Linked DNA regions of Homo sapiens: region 2 is linked to region 1. The links are contacts of gene promoters, found by promoter capture Hi-C in human tissues and cell types (Jung and others, 2019). All regions are on one chromosome and are shown on one strand. The core of a region is centred on a gene start or on the middle of the fragment in contact, and the rest is flanking DNA. Distances in the headings are between cores, read along the strand shown. Region 1 holds the start of PSKH1 (protein serine kinase H1). Region 2 overlaps NFATC3 (nuclear factor of activated T cells 3).

Region 1 (2,700 bases), core at 27-2,526:
GAGAATTGCTTGAACTTGGGAGGCAGAGGTTGCAGTGAGCCGAGATTGTGCCATTGCACTCCAGCCTGACAACAAGAGCGAAACTCCATCTCAGGAAAAAAGAAAAGAAAGAAACCTTACTACATAAAATAGACAACAATTTTTTTTTTTTTTTTGAGACGGAGTCTCACTCCATCGCCAAGGCTGGAGTGCAGTGGTGCAATCTCAGCTCATTGCAACCTCTGTCTCCCAGGTTGTAGCTATTCTCCTGTCTCAGCCTCCCGAGTAGCTGGGACTACAGGAGCCTGCCACCAAGCCTGGCTAATTTTTGTATTTTTAGTAGAGACAGGGTTTCACCTTGTTGGTCAGACTGGTCTCAAACTCCTGACTTCAGGTGATCCACCTGCCTTGGCCTCCCAAAGTGCTGGGATTACAAGTGTGAGCAGTGGCGCCCAGCCGACGACAATGTTTTATTGGTGTTAATTTATTTTTAGGTTTAAAGTATAACATTAGCTTATACAGTCAATCAAAGACAGTTCCATGTGCAAAGTACATACTCAATAAAGATTTGAATACAGAGCTACTGAAATGGGGAAGATGGATGGAGGTTACAATGCACTTACCATCTGCAGCACCTATTTTAACCCCTCCAAGTTGGGTTGACTGTAAAGTGAACCAGTTCTGATCCTATAGAGAAGTCATTGTGAATGGTAACAATTTTTTAAAAATCCGCTTGCTTTTCAGACTCGGCATATAAATTAAATTAACAACAACAAATAACCATGAGTCCAGAAGTTGGCCCAAGATTGACTTCACCTATCTACAAATTAACCCTTTGCATCTCTTCTTTGATGGAGGCCAAATTCAACACATGGAGTGTTGAAATTATTCTAAGTGCAGTTTTAAAAAATAGATTTTGTTAATGAAAATTAAGTCTATCCTTTGCGGAGTTCCAGAGGCACTTCCAGAAACCTCTGTTGGAAAGCATTGTTTACCCAAGCTCGCATTACAGAGTCCCCTTTCCCCCAACCAGAAACTTGAAACTTTCTCCCTATTTCCCGCGATCCTTCCTTTTTCTATCACCGACCCGTCTCGCAGGCAGCGGTCAAGTTACTTTGAGCGACAAATAGACCCACCCCTTCAGGAGAGTGCCCGTCCCCGCCCCGAAGAGGTTGATTGGCAGGCCACGCTCGGAGATCCGCCAGCCGCGTAGCCCAGTTTCGGGAGAGTCCGCCCCCGACCCGCCCCCGACCCGCCCCGTAGGCTTGTTTTGGCGTCAGCTGCGCGCTGTGATGACGCCACGACGCTAACGCCCGAGAATGGCGGCGGCGGCGGCGGCGGCGGCGGCCGCTGCCATTGCCCGGAGATGGCCGGCAGAGCCGCCGAGACGCCGAAGAGCCCGCCGCCCGCGCGAGGTGAGGCGGCCCGGCCCAGGACGACGGCCCGACGGGCGGGAGGGGCAGCCGAACTGTGGTCGTGGTCGCTTTCTGGCGCTCCGGGGCCTGCCCCTGGTCAGCCTGCAGCGTCGGCCCGTGCCCCGTGCGCCAGGGCCTACAGGGTTGGAGAGCAGGCCGGGCGATGGCTGCTCGGGTTCCCGGCGTCCGAGTCTGGACTGGCCTCGGAACGTGCTGTCGTGCTGGATAGCCCGTCTCCAGGCCCGCTTGGGCCTGGTGGACGTGGTCGGTTGCCCTGCCTGCTTGCTGTTCAGCCGCCCCGCGTCCAGAGCGGGTCAGGTTGATCCAACCTGGTTGTCCTTGTCCTTACTGCCTTCTCGCGCCCGGCGCCTACTCCACACCCCTCCTTTGCGTCTGCCAGGGGCCGGCGGGGCAGCTGATCGCTTCCTTGTGCAGGCTGGGAAATAGCAGGTCTGAGTCCAGCTGGGTTGCTTGCTTGGCAAGCTTGTCATTCCTCTACCTGCAAGGGGAAGCCTAGTCCCCCACACTTAGTCCCCCTCCATAAAGCGGCTGAAGTGATAATTCCCACCTGAAAATCTGAGTAAGTCCTTCACTGCCTGAAACTAGTTCCTTAGTGCCTTCAGGACAAAGGCCGCACTTCTTAGCAAGGCATTCAGGGCTCTTCGTAATCTGGTGAAGGTTTAACCAGCCAATCAACACCGGAGCACTTCTGTGCTCCCTTTACGTAGTTTATTGTTGTTAAAACGTGTGGCGCTCCTGTTAGCTCTGGTTTCATACCTTTGTGTTTTAGTATTACTAATTTTGAGACAAGGCCTCTATTGCCCAAGCTGGAGTGCAATGGCTCATTCATAGCTCACTGCAGCCTTGAACTCCTGGACTCAAATGATCCTCCCGCCTCAACCTCCCGAGTAGCTGAGACAAGAGGCACTCCCCTCCACGCCTGGCTAAGTTTAAAATTTTTTGTAGAGCCAGGGAGTCTGGCTTTGTTGCCAGAGCTGGCTTCAAGAGACCCTCCTGCCTAGGCTCCTAACATATTGAGATTATTAATACAAGCGTGAGCCACTGTGCTTGGTCCCCTTGTGCTTTAGATAACGCAGTTTTCTCAGTTTGCTATACACTGCCTTCCACCCCACCGACCACCTACCAGTGTTGGAAACTTACATCTGTCCTATAAAATCCACCTGAGATGTCACTTCCTAGGAAAAAAATCTACCTTGCTTGGCATGTAACCATTAACTCCTCTATATCCATGCTGCTACTATTGAGTACATCCTGTTGTGTCACATGGTGGTCTTCTGTCTGCATA
Region 2 (2,700 bases), core at 175-2,674, 310 kb after region 1:
ACAAAAAATTTATTTTAATCAACCTACATTAAGATTTATACATGACCAGGTGCTGTGGCTCGTGTGTAATCCCAGCACTTTGGGAGGCCAGAGCCGGTGGATCGCTTGAGCTCGGGAGTTTGAGACCAGCTTGGGCAACATGGTGAAACCCTGTCTCTATAAAAAATACCAGAATTAGGCCGGGTGTGGTGGCGTGTGCCTATAGTCCCAGCTACTCGAGAGGCTGAGGTGGGAGGATCGCTGGAGCCTGGAAGGCAGAGGTTGAAATTAGCAGAGATCATGCCACTGCACTTCAACTTGGGCGACAGAGTGAGACCCTGTCTCAAAATAAATAAAATGCAATTAAAAATATAATTTATACATAAGCTAGGAAAAGTCCAAGAGAGGCTACCACTAAAGCAGCATATCAGAAGTCTTCAAACTAAGTTCCCCTCAAAATGTGTATTTAAAAATAGTTAATGGCTGGGCGCGGTGGCTCGTGCCTGTAATCCCAGCACTTTGAAAGACCGAGATGGGAGGATCATTTGACATCAGGAGTTCAAGACCAGCTTAACCAACATGGTGAAACTTCGTCTCTACTAAAAACAGTAAAAATTGGGCCAGGCACAGTGGCTCATGATTGCAATCCCAGCACTTTGGGAGGTCGAGGCAGGCGGATCACTGGAGGCCAGGAGTTTGACACCAGGCTAGCCAACATGGTGAAACCCCGTCTCTACTGAAAATACAAAAATAAGCCGGGTGTGGTGGCACACATCTGTAATCTCAGCTACTTGGGAGGCTAAGGCAGGAGAATCGTTTGAACCTGGGAGGCAGAGGTTGCAGTGAGCTGAGATGGTGCCACTGCACTCCAGCCTGGGCGACAGAGCAAGACTCCATCTCCAAAAAAAAAAGAAAATAGTGAAAATTAGCCACGCATGGTGGTGAACGCCTGTAATTTCAGCTACTCATGAGGCTGAGGCAGGAGAATCACTTGAACCTGGGAGACAGAGGTTGCAGTGAGCTGAGATCAGGCCACTGCACTCCAGCCTGGGCAGCAGAGTGATACTCTGTCTCAAAAATACAAAAAATGGTAATGAATTATGGTTACTGTTTCTTGATAAACTCATATTTTTTTTGAACACTGTGCTAGGCACTTTGCTAGTGGCTCATTAATTCTTTGCAATCATGTGTGAAATGTGAATTATTAGTCTTAATTTTGTATAGATGTGGCTCAGAGACCTTAAGCACATCCCAGCGTTATATGGCCACAAATAATTGGGGCAGACATTTGAATCCAGATTTGTCTGAAATGTAGATTTTCTCACATGTGTTTTTAGTGGCTTCTAAAATAGCTATAATTGATTACTTATATAATCTCGCTTTCGTAAAGACAATAGCATTGTAACTTTCTAATGTGCTGCCATGTGTAAGATAGCAAAACCTGTCTTAAAGATGTATTCTATTTTAAAATTGATATCCTTTTTTTGAGTTCCTTCGAAGACAGATTATTCACAGGAACAAAAAGATTTTTTAATGAGAGATAAATTGTTTAATTTTAGGTTCAGCAGTTGAACAAGCTTTTTGTGGTTTGGTGGCAGTTTTCTGCCTTGGCATTACAAGGTTACCTCTTGCTAACAATCATAGCTTTTGATAGACTTAGATAAATGTGTTCAAACAGCTTTTCTCTGTTTGAAGATGCCTGGCTCTTTTTTTTTTTTTTTTTTAAAGACATTTCCAAAGCCTACAGTTAGTGTCTCCATCTGGGCAAGAGACAACATGTGAAAGTCTCATTTATGCTGGAAGATAGGGTAGGGTTGAGAGTGATGGTTACAAGCATTTTAACTTTACATCTACAAGAGTGTGGTACAGATTAAGTCCTTGATAATCATGTTGTATATTTAAAAACATCTATAGATGATTTTATGTAGAATGGGAATTTTAACATTTTAAATGTGTTTATTTCTTTGGTGGGGGAACGGAGACAGGAGTTTGCTCTGTTGATCAGGCTGGAGTGCAGTGGGACCATCATGGCTCACTGCAGCCTCGACCTCCCAGGCTCCAGCATTTCTCTCCCACCTCAGCCTCCCGAGTAGCTGGGGCTACAGGTGCCTGCCACCACATCCGGCTAATTTTTAAATTTTTTTGTAGAGGCAGGCTTTTACTACGTTGCTCAGGTTGGTCTCGGCCTCCCAAAGTGCTAGGATTACAGGCGTGAGCCACCATGCCTGGCCTGTGTTTCTTAATATAATCATTTTTTGAACAAGTAATATGTTCATGTGGTTTAAAATGCTAAAGTTACAACATTATACATAGTTAAAAAAAATCTGTCTTCTAAGTAGATACTCCATTGTCCTCTGTAGGGAGAATTGGAGTTACTAGTTTCTTGGCTGTCATTCTATGCATTTATAAACAGTTGCATTTTTTTCCCCTTATTTTTACTAGCATATTATGTATACTAGTTTATACTTTGCATTTCCCATGTAATATAGAATCTTGAGAGATTATTCTATACTGTAACATAAAAGAGCTTCCTTGAAAAGATATTCTTAAAATAGAATATTCCATAAAATATTCTATAAAATACTGCTTTGAATATTTGCACCACTATCTTTTTTTCTTTTTTTTTTTGAGATGGATTCTCGCTCTACTGCCCAGGCTGGAGTACAGTGGCACCATCTCGGCTCACTGCAACCCCCACCTCCCAAATCTATGATCTCTTTC

The links. The method cuts DNA at HindIII sites, captures the fragments that hold promoters and counts their contacts. A contact is called where the count stands out against the background at its distance.
Region 2: a fragment that was not itself captured here is called in contact with the fragment with the promoter of PSKH1 in region 1 in 1 of the 25 tissues and cell types used here (spleen).

What each region holds. Positions count from the first base shown.
Region 1 is chr16:67,891,978-67,894,677 of GRCh38, forward strand. PSKH1 (protein serine kinase H1) reads left to right here and starts at 1,277. Exons shown (of 3, transcript NM_006742.3): 1 at 1,277-1,394. RefSeq lists silencers at 1,014-1,073, 1,404-1,523. The HindIII fragment of the contact is 8,725 bases long and covers 1-2,700 here.
Region 2 is chr16:68,203,309-68,206,008 of GRCh38, forward strand. All of the region lies in intron 9 of NFATC3 (nuclear factor of activated T cells 3), which reads left to right. Among named protein-coding and RNA genes, the nearest start is that of MIR6773, 29 kb to the right of the region's middle. The HindIII fragment of the contact is 4,485 bases long and covers 1-2,700 here.